Regions from separate parts of the Homo sapiens genome. Here all the other regions are linked to region 1. The links are contacts of gene promoters, found by promoter capture Hi-C in blood cells and fetal thymus (Javierre and others, 2016). All regions are on one chromosome and are shown on one strand. The core of a region is centred on a gene start or on the middle of the fragment in contact, and the rest is flanking DNA. Distances in the headings are between cores, read along the strand shown.

Region 1 (3,700 bases), core at 767-3,266:
ATAGTAAAATTTGTGTAATAAAAGATGTCGATAAGGAAGCAACTCATGATCTGGGAAAGCAAAGGAGGAAATATTTAGGTTTGACTTTATAAAATAAAAAGGCTTTCCAGGCAAAATGCATAATGGGCACCCAGCGATGAAGGCTCAGTAAGCATGTGAAGTGCTACCGAACAACGAAAGGTTCTGGAAGGCAGTGTCCCGAGGGTGTGAGCAGGAAAAGGTACAGGAGATAAAGTGAGGAGTCTGTAAAAATAAACAGAAACTGCAGGAAATGCAAACTCACAGAAGGTTTTAAGTAACCGGACTACTGACAATTTAGGCCTTCCTCTCAGGGTGGAGGCACCGAGGAATATAACCTTGTAGTGCTACACCAAAGGAAGATCCCTGAAGACCAAACGGAAAATAAATTATGTTTGAAGTAAGGCAAGCTAAGTGTTGAAATTCTAGGAGTGAAAATAATTTAAGCTGGAAAGTTCCTGAAAAGCCATTAATAAAATACACTTTCATTTTTCATGGGCCAAAGTTATATAGGGACCTCCAGGTCTCCTTTGCTTGGCTTTTACAATCAAGAAACCCGAAACCGTAAAACTTCATCTCCCTTTAACTCAGATCCCTATCTAAGCATGGGCTAAGGAAACTAGCAAACAAAACAATGTTGTCATAGGACTCAGGAGGCCCCTAAGAGACCACATCAGTCCGACAACCTCCAGGCCTACCTGGGCCCATTGGAGGGGAACGAGAGGGATTCTAGTAGTCGCAAAGAAAGTACCTTGGCTTGTAGGGGCTGTGGCTGCAGATGCCAAGAGCCCCGGATATATGGCAGGCGCGAGGGGACCCAGGTTTAGCGGGCAGGCTGGGCGGGTGCACGGGGCGGATGGGGAACAGGGGCGCTGCGGCACACTCCTAGAACACCCTAGGCCTCCCAGTCCCTGGCCTCCTCCCCCTCATGGTTCCTAGGCCGGCGGCACAACCTACAGCGCACAAGCCCGATCCAACTCTCCAGAGGACGTCAGAACATGAGTAAGTCGGCGCCCTCTTACCCAGACACACAAACAGCACGGACTTGGTAGCCTGTTCCGCCATCTTCCCGCGCGCAGAGGCGCCGAGACACCGCGGCGTTCCGCACGCCGACGCGGCGCAGGCGCACTGCCACCCTCTTGCCCCGCGCGCCTGCGCAGTCCCGCACCAACGCCAACAGGGCAGCGCGTGTGAGAGCCACGCCTGCGCAATCGGCTCCAGTGCGCCTGCGGAGGCGGTCCTATGACGGTAGTAGGACGGGCGGGGAGGGTCCGCGGGTCACCTGCAGGGACTGGGCCGCCGTTCACCTGCAGGGGCGGGGCTGCAGGTTGTCCGGAGGAGGAGGAGCTGCGGGGGTGGGGTCACCTGGAGGGAGTAGGGCCGCGGAAGGCGAGGGGGTGTGTGTGTGTGGTGGCGGGGGTTGGCGGGGGGGAGTCACCTGGAGGGGGCGGGGCTGCGGGTCGCTTGGAGGGGAAGGAGCCGCGGGAGGTAAAGGTTACCTATAGGGGACGGGGCCGCAGGAGAGGGGTACCTGGAGGAGGAAGGGCCGCGGGTCACCTGCAGGGCGGGCTCAGGCCTCGCGGCTCCGCGGGCCGCCCACCTGGGTTGGGGCACAGCGCGAGTCTCGCGCACGTGGCGGGCTGTGGTGCCTGTCGTTCGAGTTCGCATAGAGGGGCTGGGCGGGTCACGCGGGGAACCTGCCTTGAGCCCCGCGGGGTCCACGCCGGACCAGGGCGGCCTTGGGCCTGGGCGCTCCCTGAGACCCCCACCCCCAACACCGTGCTTGGAGCCGCCGCGGGGCTCTGGGCTTTTCGATCTTGAGGACGGGGCGGTTCCGAAGTCCCTGAGGGCGAAGGCCTGAGCGCGGCCCGGCGGGCGCGTGGTTTTTGTCCCGCGAAACGTACACGGCGGGTGTTTTGCGCCGCCTCCTTCGTCACCTGCCGCAGGTACGCCCTCGCTGGGGCCTCCTTGTCCGCGGGGCGGGGCAGCGCGCCTTCCTCTTCCTGGGCAGCCTCGGGACGGGGCGCCGCGGCCGGGCGGGCAGCAGTGAGTACCCGGGGACCCACCTGTCCGGCAGCACCCTCCCCTCTCAAGAGCTGGGCGGTGGTGGGAGGAGGAGGACGGGAAAACCGGCGATGCCTCTGGGGTTTCTAGGTCGCGCGTCTGTTAACCGCAAACCGCCCAAAGTTAAGATAGAGCAGCTTCCAGGACTTTCTTGACCACAGCGATTTTGATTGAAGTTTAGCCACCGTCTTTTCCATTTTTAGAAAAGCTATTCCGAAGTTTGGAATGATGACGATGGTCGTGTTATTTTTAACTTCCTGATATTTGAACGGCGAGGTGTCAGCGACCATCCTTCCGTTCCACAGAAGCGTCTCTGAAGTTTGGGTCGAATGCGCGCGCTTGGAATGTGCGTGGAACCCGCGGCAGGCGCGGGGAGGAGGCCTTGGCTAGGGCGCCGGCGAGGTTCGAGTTTGCCAGCCCCCCAACCTGGAAGAGAAGGGCCAGCCCCTCACACCCGGAAGGGAAGGGCCGGTCCCCCCAACACCTGGCGCCGGGGTCGCGGGGCCACAGGGCGAGCGCGGGGTCGCGGCGAGCACGGGTCCTCTCTGATCGCTGGGCCTTGGCGCTGGCTGCTGAGTTTTTCCTTCTTTAAGGAAGTGTGGAACTGGTCTCAATCGGTTGACCACCTTAAGGAAATAGGATTTACACTGTGGACAGAGATGTGTCCTTTACACTTCATTTGAACCAATATGCCCATGCTCCTGTGGAGGCTGAGTTGGAAAGTGACACGAAGCTGCCCCCCCGCAAGAGAGCAGGTGCTCGGTTTCTCTTCTGCTTACAGGAGATGCATGTCCTGATTTCTTGTTCTCCTAGGTGTTTTTATTGAGATGTAGGGAATATCTGAATTCATAACGACTTAGAAAATCTGTACACACAGTTGAGAGAACAGGTCTCGAGGCTAAGGTGCTGTTTACTCCCGTGGGCTGGCCTGTTATTAAAATACTTGTGCAGCGACTGATGTTTACAAATTACTATGTTGGAGGTTAAAATGATCAAAGTGATAACCTCCATCCTGTCTATCATGTTTGAGGAGAATTGGTTATTTGGTTCACTAATGTTCTGTTTAAAGAAAATTTCTGTAAAACTAGTAAATGTTACCCCTCATCTTTTGTAAGTTAAAAAAAAGTTTAAAATAATGTTTGCTCATCAAAAGTGATTTGATACTTTTGTTCTGTTTAGGAAAACTTTATTCTCAAGAGATTTCTCATTCCGCAGAAATAAGGATCTGGCATGTCAACACAAACATAGGAAGTTGAGGCAGTCAAAGGGAAATAACTGCTACCCTGACTCTGCTGAGAGCCTCACAAGTCCCTGTGCACGCCAGCTTGTTTGCCAGTGAGTGGCGTCATGATAAGACAAAATTCTCTGCTCTGAGACCTAAGCACATGAAGTTTTTAAAAAAATTTTCTCTGAGAAGATCCCATTTTTTACTCTAAAAGATCAGACCAGTGTGGCATGTGTGGAACTGCTCTGTACCAAGATCACACTCTTCAGTTGGAGAAGAGGAAGGGCAGGAATAAATAAAGGGCTTTCCTGTCTCCCGAGGGAGCAGAGAAAGCTTTCGCTGTCCTCTTCCTTCCCCAGCCACAGCCTGGGGTTGGGGGACTGGAAACAAGCT
Region 2 (3,700 bases), core at 828-3,327, 420 kb before region 1:
TTCATCTGTATAACAAACAAAGATGACACTGGATTATGACTTCTTCTGGCCTCTAACATGGGCATTTCATCAACTGCCATGATTTTGCCAAGTGACTATTTGGAAATAATGCCATCTTTATTAGTCTGTTTTCACACTGCCATAGAGAACTACCAGAGGCTGGGTAATTTATAAAGAGGTTTAATTGACCCACAGTTCCACATGGCTGGGGAGATCTCAGAAAACACAATCATGGCAAAAGGTGAAGGGAAGCAAGGCATGTCTTACATGGTGGCAGGAGCAGCAGAGGAAGTGCCGCACTCTTAAACCATTGGATCTCATGAGAATTCTCTCACTATTATGAGAACAGCATGGGGGAAATCCACCCCCATGATCCAATCACCTCCCACCAGGTCTATCTCCTGACACATGAGGATTACAATTCCACATGAAATTTGGATGGGGACACAGAGCCAAATCATATCATTCCAACCCTGCCCCCTCTCAAATCACATGTCCTCACATTGCAAAATCAACCATGCTTTCCCAACAGTCCCCCAAAATCTTAACTAATTCCATCATGAACTCAGAATTCCAAGTCCAAAGTCTCATCTGAAGCCAGGCAATTCCTTTCTGACTATGAACCTATAAAATCAAAAACAAGTTAGTTACTTTCAAGATACAATGGGGGTACAGGCAAAGTAAAGGCTTCCATTCCAAATGGGATAAATTGGCCAAAATGAAGGGGCTACAGGCCCCCATGCAAGTCCAAAATCCAGCAGGGCTGTCATTAAATCTTAAAGCTGCAAAATAGTCTCGTTTGGTTCCATGTCTCACATTGAGGGCATGCTGACACAAGAGGTGGGCTTCCAAGGCCTTGAGTAGCTCCACCTCATGTTTTGCAGGGTTCAGCCCCCACAGCTGCTCTCAAGGACTGGCACTGAGTGCCTGCAGTGTTTACAGGTGCACTGTCAGTGCACTCTCATGCTGCTATAAAGAACTGCTCAAGACTGGGTAATTTATAAAAAAAACAAAACAAAACAGCTTTAATTGACAGTGCAAGCTGTCAGTGGATCTGCCATTCTGGGATCTGGAGGATGGTGGCCACCATACCTATGGTGGCCCTCTTCTCACAGTGCCACTGGGCAGGGACTCTGTGTGGGGGCTCCAAACGCACATTTCCCTTCTGCACTGACCTAGCAAAGCTTCTCCATGAGGGCCCCACCCCTGCAGAAAACCTTCTGCCTGGACATCCAGGTGTTTCCATTCATCCTCTGAAATCTAGCAGTAGGTTCCTAAACCTCAATTCTTGCCTTCTGCACACCGGCAGGCCCTACAGCATGTGGAAGATGCCAAGGCTTGGGCTTGCACCCTCTGAAGCCATGTCCCAAGTTGTACCTTGGCCCCTTTTAGTCATGGCTGGAGCTGGAGTGGCTGGGATACTGGGCACCATGTCCTGAGGCTGCACAGAGCATCTGTGCCCTGCACTTGGCCCACAAAAACACTTTTTCCTCCCAGGTCTCTGGGCCTGTGATGGGAGGGCCTGCTGTAAAGGTCTCCAACAGGTCCTGGAGACATTTTCCCCACTGTTTTGACTGTTAACTTTTGGTTCCTCATTACATATGCAAATTTCTGAACGTGGCAGCTTGAAATTCTCCCCAGAAAATGGGTTTTTCTTTTCTACCACATAGTGTCAGGCTGCAAATTTTTCAAATGCTCTGCTTCCCTTTTAAACATAAGTTCCAATTTTAGATGTTCTCTTGTCTCTAATGTATATGACTATATGCATTAGAAACATCCAGGTCACATCTTGAACACTTTGCTGTTTAGAAATCTCTTCTGCCAGATACCCTAAATCATCTCCCTCAAGTTCAAAGTTCCACAGATCTCTAGGGCAGGGGCAAAATGTCACCAGTCTCTTTGCTAAAGCATAGCAAGAGTGACCTTTACTCCAGTTCCATGTAAGTTCCTTTTCTCCATCTGAGATCACCTCAGCCTGGACTTCATTGTCCATATCACTATCAGCATTTTGGTCAAAACCATCTTCAACAAGTTTCTGGGAAGTTCCAAACTTTCCCACATCTATCTGTCTTTTTCTGAGCCCTCCAAACCTCTGCCTGTAACCCAGTTCCAACGCTGCTTCAATGTTTTCAGGTATCTATAACAGTACCCCACTTCTGGTACGAATTTTCTGTATTAGTTTTTTTTTTCACTCTTTTATATAAAAAACTACCTGAGACTGGGTAATTTATAAAGAAAAGAGGTTTAATTGACTCATAGTTCTGCATGGCTAGGGAGACCTCAGGAAACTTACAATCATGGTGGAAGGTGAAGAGGAAGCAAGGTATGTCTTACTTACATGGCAGCAGGAGAAAGAGAGAGAGTGAGGTGGGAAGTGCCACACTTTTAAGCCATCAGAATTCATGAGAGCTCACGAGACCACCATGGAGGAAATCCTCCCCCATGATCACATCGCTTCCCACCAGGCTCCTCCCCTGACATGTGGGGATTACAATTTGACATGAGATTTGGGTGAGAACACAAAGCCAAACCATATCACCATCCAAAAAATAAAGGAAGCAGCACTGTGTTTTCCATTTACATTACATCAACATGTGCAGAAAATATTTGTAAATAAACAGTGTTGGTCTCATGAACTAAAAAGAAAAGAGATAAAAAGAGGACCCCCTGAGGACAGCAAGATAAACACCTTCATCTTTAGAGGAGGCAACAACATTCGAGTCCTAATGGTTGGTCTTTATTAGGCATGTGCCATGTGCCTGGCACAGAGCTGGGCATTTAAGGCATTTCATCCCAAATCCTTAAAACCACACATTAGAAAAGTATTATTGTCCTTATTCTCACAAAGGCAAGCTGAGGCTTTGATAATCAAAAAACAGTATTCTAAGGTCATTCCAAGTGAGAACTCATATTCACATAAAATCTTCCCTGATCTAAGGTCCATTTTCTTTTTGATATTCCACAAGCTTATAAAATTTGAGAGAAGAAAATGGAAAGAGAACCAAGTTCTGTCTGTGCTCAGTGGTACCCTTGGTGGTGTTGTGGGCCAACTTGTGTCCCCAAATTTATATGTCAGGTCCAAACCCCGCATCTCAGAAGGCTGCAGTGATTGGAGACGAGGCCTTTGAAAGGAAAGTGAGTTAAATGAGCATATAAGGGTGGGCCTCGATCCTACCTGACTGGAGTCCTTATAAGAAGAGAAGATCAGGACAAAGACACACACAGGAGGATGACCCTGTGTGCACATGGGGAGATGTGTCTGCAAGCCAAAGGGAAAGGCCTCAGAAAGAACCAACCTGTCAATGTCTTAATAATGTTAGACTTTTGGCCTCCAGAACTGTAAAGAAATAAGTTTCTGCTGTTCAAGCTGCCCAGGCTGTAGTGTCTCATTATGGTGGCCCAGGAAGTCATACAGTAGTGCAGAAAGTCAGAGAACCACAGCAATTCCTAAGGAAGGACCACTTCACGTGAAGATTGGCATAAACTTCCCTGAATACCAACATCATTACAAGACACATCAGCCTAAACTTATCAACATATGTCAAGATGTGAATTTGCACCAATGAGAAATGTACACTGGGCAGGCTAAATCCTGCCAGCTTCATTCTCTATGAGTGTGTAAATTTCTGAAGATTAATTTTTATGTCAGAGAAACTGCCCTAACAATCAATGAACTCCAAAGACCAATCTGCATATTAAA
Region 3 (3,700 bases), core at 347-2,846, 400 kb before region 1:
AATTTGAAGCCAGAAGCCATGGTTTACCTAGGAATGGATTTACTTGCCAAGAACTGTGACACCTTTATAAATAAAGTTACTCATGTTGGCTTTTTTGCTCTTTAAATTCTTCTCTGTAAGTTACTGATGTGACAAATCAAATAATAAATTTCAGACAGCTTATATATTGACAATACAAGAAAGTCCATCCAAGAGTCTCTCAAAGCATACCTGGCACATATTAGAAGCATGTAAGTTCTGAAAAGTACTGAGTGGACATTTGTGGGGCCTTGACTTCCCTGCCACTGTCCTTTGTAACCGATGACCTCAGGTTGGGCTGGGATGGGTTTGTGTCTCCCACCAACCCTAGGCCGCACACGGGGCTCTTGGGTGAGTGAGAGGCTTCCCCGCTGCAATCACAGTCCTGAGCAGAACAACAGACCGGAAGCAGCGCGGAGCCTGGGAGTGGAGGTGCAGCCTGGGTGGATGCGGGTTTCCCGGCTGCTTCAAGGGCACACAGCGCTTTCTCATTTCTTACCCTCCCAAGTCTTCACCATTGTCCTGGCAGGTTTATGACCCCCATCCTACAGGGCGTCACCTTTATGTCGACAGCACATTGAAATACGTATGCAATTAGTGGATTTTCCAGGGTAACAGCTGCAAGCTGTTGTGGAATTCTGCACATTAATACGTGGTCATTGTAAAAATGTGTTCATGAGAACTCTTGAGAGGTACTGACATGTCTGACGATAGATTCCGAGTGAAAACACTTCCTGTGATGACCACAGAACATGATCAATTTTATAAGAGCCTTGGTTCTCACTGGACATGGTGATGATGGCCTCGAATTTCAGTTTCCCTTCAGGAAAGGTATATAGGCATACTCGACATAGTTATTTATAAGATCACTGTAAGGATCAAAAGATATGTGTTAGATTCCCTAAACTGCACGTCTGTTAACGGCTTTGGTGGGGCTGGCGATGCGGTGGTGCTGATCTGATCCCCAGAATGATGTGGAGCATACAGAATGCGTCCTGTGCTGCTCACTCCAGGACCAGAATAGAGAAAAGGAAATGTGACATGTAGCTGCTGCGTGAAAGAGATGCCCGGCCCGACGTGGGGCCAGAGTCGTGGATCCTGCACAGGTTGGTCTCCTGAGCTGTGAAAGGGGAACGTCAGGATCTGGGGCCGCATACCTCCTTGGCTCTGCAGAGCTTTTCCAGTTCGTTCCCCGTTCTGTCTGAGAAAGACATCTTTTCCACTAACCCTCCAGAGGGCACCACAGCACCATGCCAGAGGCCCCTGTTTGGCTGCTTGGGGAAAATTTCTGTCACTTATTCAGAAAGAGAAGTCTAATATTTTTGATTGAGGAACGTCACCCGGAGCTGAAGGGAATGAGCCGGGAAGCACAGGGCTTCGGTTTCCTGTGTTCATTTGAATGAGGTTAACCACATCCCAAATCAGTTGTAAAGTCAGTTTTTACTGTCCAGAAACAGACCTAAATACATACACAGGTGAACACACAGAGTCACATGTGCACACATGTGAACACAGAGACACGTGCACACGTGAACACACAGAGACATGCGCACATGTCACAACGCAACGTACACAGTGCAGGTTTACATATACACTCTCACTTGTGCATGTAAGCTCACACTCATGCACATACCCACACGATACATGCAGCAGTGTACTCTCACGTGTGCACACGTGCACACATGTAGGCGCCTGGAGACATCACTGATTTCATTTTTCCGTTACATTAGAAAACACCCATGCTGCACCTGCACCCACACAGATGATGATGTGAATGAATAAGTGCATTTACATGGTCTAGTTTCAGGAATGCTTTTTTTTTTTTTTTTTGAGACGGAGTCTCACTCTGTCGCCCTGGCTGGAGTGCAGTGGCATGATCTCGGCTCACTACAACCTCCACCTCCTGGGTTTCAGCGATTCTACTGCCTCAGCCTACCGGGTAACTGGGATTACAGGCACCTGCCATCACGCCCAGCTAATTTTTTAGTATTTTTAATAGAGTCTGGGTTTCACCATATGGGCCAGGCTGGTCTCGAACTCCTGACCTCAGGTGATCCACCCATCTCGGCCTCCCAAAGTGCTGGGATTACAAGCGTGAGCCCCCGTGCCCGGCCCACGAATGCTTTTTAAAGAAGACCTATCCAGTGAAGTAACATGATGAGAATGGAGGGACTGAGAGGCTGCTCTGTGGGGGCTGTGCTATGATAGGGATGAGCCTCACAAGATGCTGCAGGCCCGAGGAGCTCACCACTTCTGCCTGCTGGACACTGGGAGGCTCAGACACACGAAGAGAAAGGATGAAGGGCCCCACCCTGGCCCTTGACGCGCTGCTGGCCTCAGGAACTACTTTTAAGTAGAGAGTAGAAGTTGGAAGCTGAAGTGATACGCCCTCCTTCGCTTGACCTTATCTGTGGTCTCAGAAGACTCGGGCGGCTGGAAACGTCCACGGGAAATGGGGGCGAGGCTGCACTCTACACCCAAGGCCCACCTGCACCATCCAGGGCCCAGCCTCGGCAGCTCCGGGTGCACAGCAGGTAGCGAGAGCACTGCAGGTAGTGGGAGCACTGCAGGCAGCGAGTGCACAGCAGGGAGCGGGAGCACAGCAGGGAGCGGGAGCACTTCAGGGAGCGTGTGCACTGCAGGGAGCGGGAGCACTACAAGGAGCAGGTGCGCTGCAGGGAGCAGGAGCACTGAAAGGAGTGGGAGCACTTCAGGTAGGTGCACAGCAGGTAGCAGGAGCACAGCAGGGAGTGGGAGCACTGCAGGGAGTGGGTGAACTGTATGAGCAGGTGCACAGCAGGTAGCAGGAGCTCTGCAGGGAGGGGGAGCTCTGCAGGGAGCGGGAGCACTGCAGGGAGCAGGAGCACTGCAGAGAGCGGGTACACAGCAGGGAGCGGGTGCACAGCACGGAGTGGGTGCACTTCAGGGAGTGGGTACACAGCAGGGAGTGGGTACACAGCAGGGAGCGGGTGCACAGCAGGGAGTGGGAGCACTGCAGGGAGCAGGAGCAGTTCAGGGAGCCGGTGCACAGCAGCTCTGTCCTTAGATAGAAGCCCGACTGGGAGACCCGCTCCTCGTTCCCCTGCTCTCAACCGAGGCCCAGCCGACGTCCCTGCGGCTTCTGCCTTACATCCCGGCCCTGCTTCCCGCTCAGCGGCTTTCACCGCTGCCTGCCTCTCCCTGCGGCCTGGCTGAGGAGCAGGTGGGCTCCGCCTCCCATTAGCAGCATTGCCTCCGTCCAGCACAAAGACCAAGACTTGTCTCTGAAAAGCGTCTGCAGCACGCGTGGGAACCGCCGCTCAGCAGCTCTTCTTCTGGCACCCACAGGGCCTTCTGGGATTTACAATGTTTCAAATAAAGAGATAACATGAAAAATAAAATGCTGACCAGTAAATGACGCTATGAGGGCAACCACTGTCTATACTCAAAAAACCTCATGCTGTTTCTATAGTATTACATTTTAAATGTATAGACTTCATTTTTTTAAATCAGTTTTAGGTTTACAGAAAATTGAGTGGAGTTCCAATACTCCATCCAGTCCCAATTTCTCCTGTTACTTACTTATTGGCTTACTGCCCTGCATTTGCTAAAATCAGCAAACGTACACGGACACTCATCGTCCCCCAGAGTAACCCGTCGCTTCCATTAGGCCTCCATCTTGCTGTTGTACTTCCTGTGGGTT
Region 4 (3,700 bases), core at 647-3,146, 370 kb before region 1:
CACATGCTGACTAAATTAAAGACACCTGGAATTCTAGGACATTGACAACATTAATGTTCAGATGCATTTTCTTTGTCAAAATTAACTGTCTCTCTCATCCTGCGAGGTCTGGGGTTCACTCTTGTGATGAGGCCCAGTTACTAGCACCTCTAAATGTAGAGTAATTTATTAGAATTTAAGAACCTCATCCAAAAATGTCTTTGAACCACCTAGTTCCAGCCAAGAGTTCTGGGATTTGGTCAATTACCCTCATTTACATCTCCTCTGGGGCGTTTAAGACAAAGAACTGAGATGCCCTCACGGGTGCAGGTTAATGTGACTGTGCCTCACAGTTTTGTTTGTTTTCTAAGAGTTGCCATATTTTGTGAGCAGATCCAAAAGGCTCCGTTCCACTGTTTTTCTGTGGCTTGGTGGCCTCCAGCTTCCCTGGCAGTCACAAGCATGGCTGTGGGTGCAGACATGCAATCCTCAACAGCACCTTGGCGGCTCACTCGTTTGATTCTCTGCAGGTGAGACTGCCAATATTCTACAGTTTGTATTCTACAAAATCAGCACCTTGGGAATGATTCCAGCTAATACAGCAGACATTAAAGATACAAGCCCGGTGTCTCCACGGGTGAGACAGTCACGGGGGATGCTGGAGAGAGGGCAGAGCTCTTGGGTTCTTCCTGGCATCCATTTGAGGACTGTGTACTCACAATGTTAACTCACACAGTTGATGTTCTCATTAATTCAAGACCCTAGAACTGCCAGACTGAGAGGAACAACCAGGGTTTCCCCATCAAGTCAATGTCTTAGTTAACCTGTGCTTCTTTATTTTGAGCAAAAGTAGGGATTGTTTTCTCTGGAGATTAGAGGTTCCTAATTTTGTGCACACCTACTGACAGTTCGTCATATCTATACATACGCATATGTGTTCATGGGCCACATAACATTTCGGTAAAGAATGGGCTGCATATACTGAAAATCCCTGCTGCCCAGGACAGATGCAGCCATTGTAACCATGCTAAGGTCCCAATACAACACTTTCCTTACGTGTGGGTGCTGACGCTGGTGTAAACAAACCTGTCGCACTGCTAGTTGTATAAAAGTGTAGCACACACAACTATGTACAGTATGATTAATAATAAATGACTGTGTCGCTCTTTCATGTATCTATTATTCTACAGGGGTTCCCAATCCCCAGGCCGTAAACCAGTACCAGCCTGTGGCCTGTTAGGAACTGTGGCACAGCAGGAGGTGAATGGCATGTGAGTGAGTGTCACTGCCTGAGCTCTGCCTCCTGTCAGATCAGCAGCGGCACTGGATTCTCACAGGAGAATCCAGTGAGAGCCCTGTTGTGAAAAGTGCATGAGAGGGATCTAGGTTGTGCACTCCTTATGAGAATCTAATGCCTGATGATCTGAGCTGGAACTGTTTTATCCAGAAACCATTCCCCTCAACTCTGGTCCATGGAAAAACTGTCTTCCACAAAACCAGTCCCTGGTTCCAAGAAGGTTGGGGACTGCTGCTACACTATATTTTTAGCATTATTTTAGAATGTACCCCTTCTACTTAAAAAAAAAAACTGGTTAACAGTCAAACAGTCTGCGGCAGACCCTTCGGGGAGGATTCCAGAAGAAGGCATTAGAGATGACAGCGCCATGTGTGTTACTGCCCCTGAGGACCTTCCAGGGAACAAGATGTGGAGGGTTAGGGTTAGGATAGTGATGTTGACGATCCTGACCCTGTGTAGGCCTAGGTTAATGTGTGTGTTTGTGTCTCAGATTTTAACAAAAAAGGTTAAAAAAAGTAAAAGTAAAAATAAAATTAAAAAAGCTTATAGAACAAGGATATAAAGAAAGAAAATATTTTTGTACATCTGTACAATGTGTTTGTGTTTTAAGCCAAGTGTTATTACAAAGAGTCAAAAAGATTAAAAACTTAAAAGTTTATAAAGTAAAAAGTTATTTCATTAAGGTTAAGCTAAGCTTAATTTATTATTGAGAAAAGAGAAATATTTGCGATGAACTGAGTGTTGCCTAAGTGTACAGTGTATATAAAGTCAACAGTAGTGGACAGAAATGTCTGAGAGTCTAGGCCTTCACAGACACTCACCACTCACTCACCAACACCCAGAGCAACAACTTCCATCCTGCAAGCTCCTTTCGTGGTAAGTGCCCTATACAGGTGCACCATGTTTATCTTTTATACCATATTTTTACTGCACCTCTTCTACGTGTAGCTATGTTTAGATACACACTCTCCACTGTGTTACAGCTCCCTGCAGTTCCAGCACAGCCATCTGCTGTACAGGTTCGTAGCCTAGGAGCACGAGGCTACACCTTATGGCTGAGGTGTGTCATAGGCTGTAACTTCTAGACTCTGTTCACATATACCCTATGATGTTTTGATGTTTGCACAATGACAAAATTGCCTAACAATGCATTTCTCAGAATGTACCCCCAGCGTTAAGCAATGCATGACTGTACACATAAAACCTATACAACCAGGAATCAAGTGGCCAAGGCTAGAAGCACATGTGTCCAGCCATGCGTAGAAGCAACACAGAGTTTCTACTGACACCGAACTTCACTTGAGTTTCGAGGCCCTGCAAAAGGATGGTCAAGAAGCTCCACCCTCCACGTTCCAGAAATGGTTCCCTGCGAAGATCACCTTCCTCGCAGGTCGTAGAGGAGACCCAGGGGTCCTCTTTCTACCCGGGCAGGCCAAGCTCAGACCTTCCAAATTCCCTGTTCTTGTCTCACAAGTAACTGACCACGGTGGACGAGACACCCACAGTGACGGAGCCATCCAGTGCTCCGTACAGGGAGTAGCAAGCCCTGGCCTGCTTCTCCAAGCGTCTGCTAACCCCAGCCTAAGACCCCTCCCGCTGACCATCTCGCCCATCCTCCCCCATAGGGCGTCGCTCTGGCGGTGGTCATTCCTTCTCATATCAGAGAAGCACATGTCTTCCTGAGTGGGAGACGCTTCGGGGTCTCCTGGCTGGAACCTCTCCCTGTTGAGAGAACCCTTCCTTACCTGAGTTCAGATGTGTTATTTTATTGGACACAGCACCACCTAGATATGTCCTATTTATCTGCAAGGCAAGTGCAAGAAAACCTGCTAAGATAATATGTGTGATGCAATCTGCATATTGCAATGTTTTAGTTTTTTCCCATTTTATAGTCAATAACTTGGGCTTCATTTTCCGTTCTCTAAAATGAGGGCTGAGAAGAGTTAGGCAGCATGTCAGCGCTAGGTGGCGCCCGAGGATTTTTCTTTTAACAAATGATCCCAAATGTTCTGGAATTCGCGGTTCTTCCCGCCCAAAGCGCCGCCGCGTCCAAGGGCGGTTACCACACCGCGTGCCAGGGCGCGTCTTCCCTCCCGTGGGCCTCGCAGCGGTCCGGGCAGGTGGCTGAGGGTGGCCCGTGTTCGTCTTTCCCAGCTTTGTGGAGGTGTAGCTGGGCCTGTGGGCACACGGACGCCCTCCCGATTGCGCTGATGGGCCCGGGGACGGTCCCTGTGTCCCTGGAGCTGACAGAGCCGCCATGCGCGGCCGAGGACTCTGCGGATTCACCCTGTTCCAGGCTGCGCCGACTCCGCTCGCTTCACGTGTGCTGTTTCCTCACAAGTCGGGCCGGACGCGGATACACCCGCCTCCGTAGGCCTGAGCGAGCCTGAGCCCCTGGGCGCGCCGGGTCCCCGCCGAGGAAAC
Region 5 (3,700 bases), core at 481-2,980, 340 kb before region 1:
GCGTGCTGTCTGGGGCTGTCTGAGACTGTCTGGGACAATGGCTCTGGCAGCGGCCTCTGTGGCCGGCAGGTTGTGCCACAAGACAGGTTGGTCTTGTGAGACGCTGCTCGTCTGGGACCTGAGTGGCCTCTGGACAGTCCCCAGGAGCACCTGGAGAGTCAGACCGGGCCTCACCTCTTGCCTCCCCTTTTGAAGTCTGGGGACAGAGTGGAGCCCCGCTGTTCCGCATGGGAAGCGTGAGTGTTGAAAGATCAGAACCTTTATGTCAGTTTTACACAAATAATTTTTCCATCAGGTAAAATGACAAACGACACCACTGCAAGTGTGGCAGTGACAGAATTTAAAATGCCTACTCTGAAAGGCAGGAGCCTGCAGTTGCAGAATCACCGTGATTCTCCCAGGCAGGGTCAAGAATTCTAGCTCTTAGAAGTTTGCCGCCTGCAAATTCCTAAATCCCCTGCAAGGTAAGAGAGGGACTGGCGGAGCCTGAAGAACGAAGTTACATGTTAATACCTCCATAGGCCTCGTGACCAACAAAAAAGGACTGAAAGTGAAAAAGCGAATCCTGTGTTTGAAGACCTTTGTATATTCAAGTTGTCTTTTCCTTCGTTTCATTTTCTTTCATTTTAACTTTCACAAAAGTCGCTATTTATTACTCATGCACATAAATATCTCTACTCCTGACTCAAGCTGGCAACCTATGGAGATTTAGGGTATTCACGACCCCCAGCAAACAGCAGCGCTCAGCGGAGCAGCTGTCTCTGAATGGAGCTGATGTCTGGGAGTGCTGCACTCCGATGAGCCAATGGAAGTCTCTATCATCTTGAATCTTCACTGTGTTAACTGTGAAGTGCCTGAATCTGGGGGGACTGGGCCCTCACAGCCGCCAGGTGAGGGGGACCCTCTTCCCTCTCCTCTGGGTGAAGAGGTCCCAGCTCACACAAGTCACCCCTGGTAAGAGGCAGAGTCCACAGCAGGACCTGGGTAGAAGCCAAAGGCAACACTCCCTACCCCACACATGGGTTCCTCTCAAGTAAATCACCAGCGGGGCGAGGTGCACACAGCGTCTAGGAAGACAGGACAAACTGTTGTCACCTCCTTCAGCCAGGAGGCCCCACACGGAGCGCCACTGCCTCCACTATCTGATGCCACAGGGCAGACGTCATGTGCTGGTTAAGGGAGGAGAAACTGCGGATCATTTTCCATCTTATTGGAAATCACTCTCTGACACTTTTTCCTCATCCTCACTAAGTACCCACCGAGTATACCAGCAACAGTGTAAAATAAACACAGCTTAAAGAAGTAGGAACCCTTTATTCCTGGGACTTAAAAGCTTGACTATCCACGGTAAGTCGATGACCAGTGCCCATGGCGTGAACAGCTCTGACACCAGAGTTGACAACAAAAACAGGAGTGTTTGCATTTCTGGGGCCTCAAGAAATGGGGAGGTTCTCCCAAGTACACTGACAGGGGTATTGTTCCCCTATTTTAGAATTATTACCCCAAGATCAGCAAATTGAAGTAAGTTGGTTGATCTCACGCCACAGCACCTGTGCTTTTCCAGCAAGGGAGGGATGGAGTCCAATGCAGGAGTCCCCGTCACAGAGAAAACCACTGTGATGGGATGTCTATTTGGGAATTAGGACACAAAGGCAGATGGGATAGGGTGGGGAGTCTACATATTTTTTATTTGGATGCTTTGATGGATTAAAGTTCCAAAACAAGTGTGTATTGGGCAGAGGGCAGTCTGGGCTGTGGTTCTGCTCTGTGAGGCTGGGAGTCCAGGCAGGTCCTGTGTCCACTGGTTCACTTTTACAGCCTGAAGCCCCTCGGCAGGACATCTGCACAGAGGCCTGCAAGTGACTCCAGGGTGCTAATGATGCCCACAAGGCGAAAGCCAGAGAAAATCCCATCGACTCTGCTAACCAGGGCACCCGTGGCCACCAGTGCGGTTTTATCCTGCAAAGAACAAACCAGTTTGCAAACCACGCTTTGAGGCCAGAGGCATGGCGGTACTCACCAGTGTCTCCTGAAGGCTGGAGCCTCCGAGGGTTGATTCAAAAACTGTATTTTCTTATAAAATGTAGTAACATTTGAACCTTAAAAAAGGGCTAGGGAATAAGCTTATCTAGCCTCTCATGTAATTTTGTAACTGAGTGGGATGAAGGCTGAGGAACAAAGGCATCTGGCGCCAGCACCCCTGCTGATCTCTGTCCTCCCGGGGCTTGCCTGTGTTGGGAGTCTCTCCAGCAAAATCAGGCTGCAGAAATGAGATTCTAGTTAAACAAGGCCCACTGTTGCTTTAAGATGAAATGTCAAAGTTTTAAAAAATGTATTAACTTGCTCTTTTGGCCAAGAGATAAACAGATGTACTTCCTTCTACTCCACAGGCATTGAGTTGACAGAGAAGAGCTTGAATCATCAACATGGCGTGAGTGACCACATCCCTCACTCTGAGCCCCACTCCACAGCAGATGACTCTGAATCGCCCCGGCTAACGGCGTGCCCAGCATCCTGATGCTCTGATTAGTCCTGAATCACCCGAGGGCGGGCGGTGCGGTGGCTGGGCTGTCTCAGAGGGCATCGCGGGCTGGGTGGACGAGGCTGGCCCAGAAGAGGGCAACAAGCATTTGACAGGGAGTGGCAGGCTACCATCTTGCCTCTTCTGCAGTTTGCGACACTTAGGGTCATGAGTGTTTTTCCTCACACTAAGGAAGGAGACCACTACTCCTCCTGATGCCCTCCTTCCCCCCACCTTGCCTAGTTCACAAAACAGGAAGAGAGAAAAAGCAAAAAGTTGGAAAAAAACAAAAGTAAGATAAATAGCCAGATAACCTTGGCACCACCACCCGGCCCTAGGAGTTAAAAAAAGTGATAATAATAACATCAACCCCTGACCTAAACTACTTGTGTAAATTCCAGACACTGTATGAAAAAAGCATTGTAAAACTTTCTGTTCTGTTAGCTGATGCCTGTAGCCCCCAGTCACGTTTCCCACGCTTGCTTGATGTACTACGACCCTTTCACGTGGACCCCTTAAAGTTGTATGCCTTTAAAAAGGCCAAGAATTTCTTTTTCAGGGAGCTCAGCTCTTAAGACTCAAGTCTGCCAATGCTCCTGGCTGAATAAAAACCTCTTCCTTCTTTAATCCGGTGTTTGAGGAGTTTTGTCTGCGGCTTGTCCTGCTACAATACAGTGGCCCGAAAGGCAAGGAAACTCCCGCAAGCGTTCAGAAAGGCTGCGGGTTTTTCAGGTAACATTTCTGCAGCCACTGATGTCTGACCCAAAGAGCTCTGAATGCTTGCCAGAGAGATGTGTAGTTCTAATCCCAAAGCCCTGAATGTTCTGATTTCCTCATTAAGACTGACTTAACATGAGCTATTTAGTCAGCTGAGTTATCAACTGAAGAAAGTAACCGGTGTTTCCCACTTATTTTCTTCTGTGGTTGTTTGAAAACAGCCGTGGTGTGGACAGAGTTCATGCAGCCTTGATGGTGGTGTGTCCCCAGCTCCACGCACGCACTAAACCTTTAATTCATTTCAGCATAAATAAGTTAATGAATATGCATACATGAATAAATTAACTGGCATAGTTTTAGTCCTATTGAAGTTTTAAACTCACCAATTTATCCAACTTCTCTGCACTGAGTTTTTATTCAAGTGAACTATTCCAGTCTTGTGACTTCTGATATAATAATAGT
Region 6 (3,700 bases), core at 707-3,206, 320 kb before region 1:
CTCACTTCAGGTGGCAGAAGTTGTTGAAATAGGCACAGTGGTTCTTGTCACCTGCTGATGTTACTTTCCCTGCCTTAGAGAGGCATTGATAATGATACACTTCTGAACCACAGCCAGGGTCCAGGCCTGAACAGATGTCAGCATCTTCAGGGAGCTTTTGCCAGGACGCCGCCCAGCCACATGGCCACCACGTTCATTCAAACACGGGGCTTCCTGTCAAACTACACTAGAATTTTATTGGAATAACCTTAATAGTAATATGTCTACTTTTAAAACAATATTCAAGAACGTGAATTTCTGTTCCACACACCCATATGTAGACCAAAACACTTACAAGTTGATGCAGACCACGTTAAAAATCAGAGCCCAGGGCATTTTACACGATAAAGCCCGAAAGACATGGAAAAGCTGCTGTATGGTGCTTCCGTTTTGTTTAAATAACTCTGAATAAACAACCTACCTCTACTCATTAGACTAGGCACTATGGTCAGTAGTAATTTCTCTCCTGCTTATTTTTATCTTTAGAATTGCATGTGGCTTCCAATAATCTTTAATCAGAAGTAATGTGATTTGGAATTTAGGAGAATACTATTTTATATATACATATATACACATGCATTTATATATAGGTGTATGTCTGAAGTGACATGATGAAGAAAACACCATCTTTTGAGCAAATACTCAATGCCTCATCTTAAAGGCCAAGGGGGCATTTTTCAGAGTACTCGATGGGAAGACGACCTCTTATCTCAGTGGCCAGTTTCAAGACCGGCTGTAGGGGCCACTAAGAAGGATTTGTTAACAAATGAAGAAATGAAGCCTGACCTAACACAGACGGGGCCTCCCTCTGTGACTTCCTGCTCGCCAAACACAAAAGCAGACGGCTTTCACTGATTTTACACCATTTCTTTTTTGAGGGGGACTAAAGCTTGCTCTGTCGAGCCTTCCCCCAGGAACTGAAAGTAAGTGAAGCCCACAGTTAACGTCCGGGTGGGAGATTTTCCCAGCAACGCGTCATGGGCGCCAGGACCACCGAGGAGGCGCCGCTGCCTTGTGGGTGAGTGGGGACGTGATGGGAACAGGTTCCCTGCGACCAGCAGGGGTCACTCTGAGGGGTCAACACTTATTCAGGCACACACTTTTCTGGTATATTTGTAAAACTCACACCTCTTATTAGGTCTTGTCTTTATATTTTAAAAAACTTGTCTGAAATAGGTGTTTAAAGACTGATAATAATGATATAGTAATATTAAGTTTGGGTTTCACAGTTGAAAAGTTTCTTTCTACTATTTTTATTATTGCATTAGAGAAAATCACCCAAAGCAATAATCAGTTGTAAACATGAATTACCTTCCTCATACAGTCCGGGCTCTAGTTTTCCGATGATAACTCAAATGCTCCACCTACGAAGTCCACACGAGGTTTTGCACTTTTCTTCCAGTGTCAGAATGAATAACCTCACCTAAATAAATATTCCTAAGAAAAGTGGACGGACACATGTGAAAAGTTCCTGTGAACCAATGAAGGGACGCTCTGGACGCTGGAGGTCGAGGCGTCATGCCTGGCAAGCGTGGGCTCGCCACCGTCCCGGGAGAACCTTAGCGGGCACGGCCTTGTTCCCTCTGCTCGGCCGCTCCCTAGTCGTAGGTGCTCTCACTGCCGAGCTCAGGATGACCCAGGAAGAAGAGGGACCGATGGTTCTGAACTTCTATCCGCTCCATTTACAGTCTCAGGAAAAATAAAACACAATAACAGCAAGTGAGCACGCCCTGGAGCAGGATTCCCTGAGCAAGCGCCGCGTGGAGCTTCTTCCTCACACGCTGGCGGCCGCCGCCTGGAGCTTCTTCCTCACACGCTGGCCGCTGCGTGGAGCTTTTCTCACACACTGGCCGCCGCGTGGAGCTTCTTCCTCACACGCTGGCCGCCGCCGCCTGGAGCTTCTTCCTCACACGCTGGCCGCTGCGTGGAGCTTCTTCCTCACACGCTGGCCGCTGCGTGGAGCTTCTTTCTTACACACTGGCCGCCGCCGCGTGGAGCTTCTTCCTCACACACTGGCCGCCGCGTGGAGCTTCTTCCTCACACGCTGGCTGCCGCCGCCTGGAGCTTCTTCCTCACACGCTGGCTGAGGTTCTGTGGGCTGCAAAATGAGGGCTCATGGATTGCTCATGTTAAGAATATTGAAAGAAGGGCTGGAGAATGGAAACGCTTCCGTTTGCCCTGAGTTTCCTGTGGCTGTTAGGGGTTTGACTTCTGCACTGCCTGCTCTCCGTGCCCCTCGCTGCTGCTGGACGCTTGCGGTGTTGTTCTGGTGGTCGAGGCAGCTTGTGCCCCTCGTTGCTGCTGGACGCTGGCGGCATTGTTCTGGTGGTCGAGGCAGCTTGTGCCCCTCACTGCTGCTGGACGCTGGCGGCGTTGTTCTGGTGGTCGAGGCAGCTTGTGCCCCTCACTGCTGCTGGACGCTGGCGGCATTGTTCTGGTGGTCGAGGCAGCTTGTGCCCCTCGCTGCTGCTGGACGCTGGTGGCATTGGCCTGGTGGTCGAGGCAGCTTGTGCCCCTTACTGCTGCTGGACGCTTGCGGTGTTGTTCTGGTGGTCGAGGCAGCTTCCATCAGAACCCGGCTGCCTCCTCCGGCTCACAGCTCAGCGTTGTTGTTCTTTCTAATGAGCCTCAGCGTCTCTCTGCCCTAATTACATTTCACTGTTTGCTAGCATTAACTATTATTTATGTAAATGATTACCTTCTAATACTACTTGCAGTACAGAATTTATTTCAATTAAGGACAGAACTTTTCCTTTCTAAATGTCCCTGTTCTTCTTTCATTTCCAGATACAATGAGCCAATTTCTCGTCACAGCCCCAGGGCACCTTTATGTCATTTTCATCAATGTTTTCTAACTGTTCTCAAGGTTTTTCTGCTTATATAATGCAATTAAAATAGAGTTTTATTCTAATTAGAGAAACATCTGAATAGAAGGGGAAGCTTTAGGAGCTCTGGACAGGGAAGGGATCTGGAACCTTGTCTCAGACCACACTCCTGTTTGTCAGTGTGGAGGCCGAGGCTCACAGGAGTCATGCTGGCCCGGACTACACCCTCCACAGAGGGCTGCAGATGGACACAGAGGTCTCTCCACACAGACACAGGCACTCTGGTCAGATCTTGGGAATTTCTTGCCAAATCAATGGCCCGAGTCTGGCATCTTACGATGGAGGCCGGATGCCTCTGCACAACCGTCGGCTCACAATCCTTAAACTTCCCAACAATGTTTCATCAGCACCACACTCCCGGCTGTGTGCACCAGCTGAGATCCTGGCCCTTACCCACCCTCAGGGCTGGCTTAGCTGCCCTTTCCTCACTGACTGCCTTTGACTGTGTGTCTAGGCCCAGGAAACTTGCCTGACAAATTACAGAGCTCTCCAGAAATAAGCATTCACTTTTATTTTTCTTTAATAATGCTTTATGCTTATACCCATAAATGCAATCATATAAATATGTAAATTACCTTGTTAGGGGTGCATTCCTTATTTTTCTCTTATTTTTTTTCTCTTTTCCATTTTCAATAACCTTTTTTCTCCTTGCCGCCTCCTCTCCCACTCCCTCCTCCAGATAGAAACCTGGCATGTAGACTTCCACGTATTTTTCTCCATGGCCATATGATAATATGCAAACACAAGCATAAATATTTAAATTCACATTTACCTTA

Evidence for each region. Contacts are between HindIII fragments. The CHiCAGO score rates a contact against its expected background, and 5 or more counts as called.
Region 2: a fragment that was not itself captured here is called in contact with the fragment with the promoter of SH3YL1 in region 1 in 3 of 17 cell types (fetal thymus, naive CD8 T cells and erythroblasts); the score reaches 6.8 in fetal thymus.
Region 3: a contact is called between a fragment that was not itself captured here and the fragment with the promoter of SH3YL1 in region 1, in 9 of 17 cell types (naive CD8 T cells, megakaryocytes, total CD8 T cells and 6 more). The highest score is 8.8, in naive CD8 T cells.
Region 4: a contact is called between a fragment that was not itself captured here and the fragment with the promoter of SH3YL1 in region 1, in 14 of 17 cell types (total B cells, megakaryocytes, total CD8 T cells and 11 more). The highest score is 18.0, in total B cells.
Region 5: a fragment that was not itself captured here is called in contact with the fragment with the promoter of SH3YL1 in region 1 in 2 of 17 cell types (total CD8 T cells and naive B cells); the score reaches 5.6 in total CD8 T cells.
Region 6: a fragment that was not itself captured here is called in contact with the fragment with the promoter of SH3YL1 in region 1 in 1 of 17 cell types (naive B cells); the score reaches 5.0 in naive B cells.

Annotation. Positions count from the first base shown.
Region 1 is chr2:262,348-266,047 of GRCh38, reverse strand. SH3YL1 (SH3 and SYLF domain containing 1) reads left to right here and starts at 2,016. Exons shown (of 10, transcript NM_015677.4): 1 at 2,016-2,064. The coding sequence starts at 2,064. ACP1 (acid phosphatase 1) reads right to left here and starts at 1,101. Exons shown (of 6, transcript NM_004300.4): 1 at 1,041-1,101. The coding sequence starts at 1,083. RefSeq lists an enhancer at 991-1,040 and silencers at 1,391-1,470, 1,541-2,120. The HindIII fragment of the contact is 12,050 bases long and covers 1-3,642 here.
Region 2 is chr2:683,530-687,229 of GRCh38, reverse strand. No RefSeq gene overlaps it. Among named protein-coding and RNA genes, the nearest start is that of TMEM18, 8.0 kb to the right of the region's middle. The HindIII fragment of the contact is 1,782 bases long and covers 1,187-2,968 here.
Region 3 is chr2:660,283-663,982 of GRCh38, reverse strand. It overlaps TMEM18 (transmembrane protein 18), which reads left to right. Exons shown (of 5, transcript NM_152834.4): 5 at 1-106. Among named protein-coding and RNA genes, the nearest start is that of TMEM18-DT, 15 kb to the left of the region's middle. RefSeq lists an enhancer at 2,799-3,374. The HindIII fragment of the contact is 8,201 bases long and covers 1-3,700 here.
Region 4 is chr2:636,706-640,405 of GRCh38, reverse strand. No RefSeq gene overlaps it. Among named protein-coding and RNA genes, the nearest start is that of TMEM18-DT, 39 kb to the left of the region's middle. The HindIII fragment of the contact is 152 bases long and covers 1,821-1,972 here.
Region 5 is chr2:597,100-600,799 of GRCh38, reverse strand. No RefSeq gene overlaps it. Among named protein-coding and RNA genes, the nearest start is that of LINC01875, 53 kb to the right of the region's middle. The HindIII fragment of the contact is 790 bases long and covers 1,336-2,125 here.
Region 6 is chr2:581,215-584,914 of GRCh38, reverse strand. No RefSeq gene overlaps it. Among named protein-coding and RNA genes, the nearest start is that of LINC01875, 37 kb to the right of the region's middle. RefSeq lists an enhancer at 1,131-2,330. The HindIII fragment of the contact is 2,051 bases long and covers 931-2,981 here.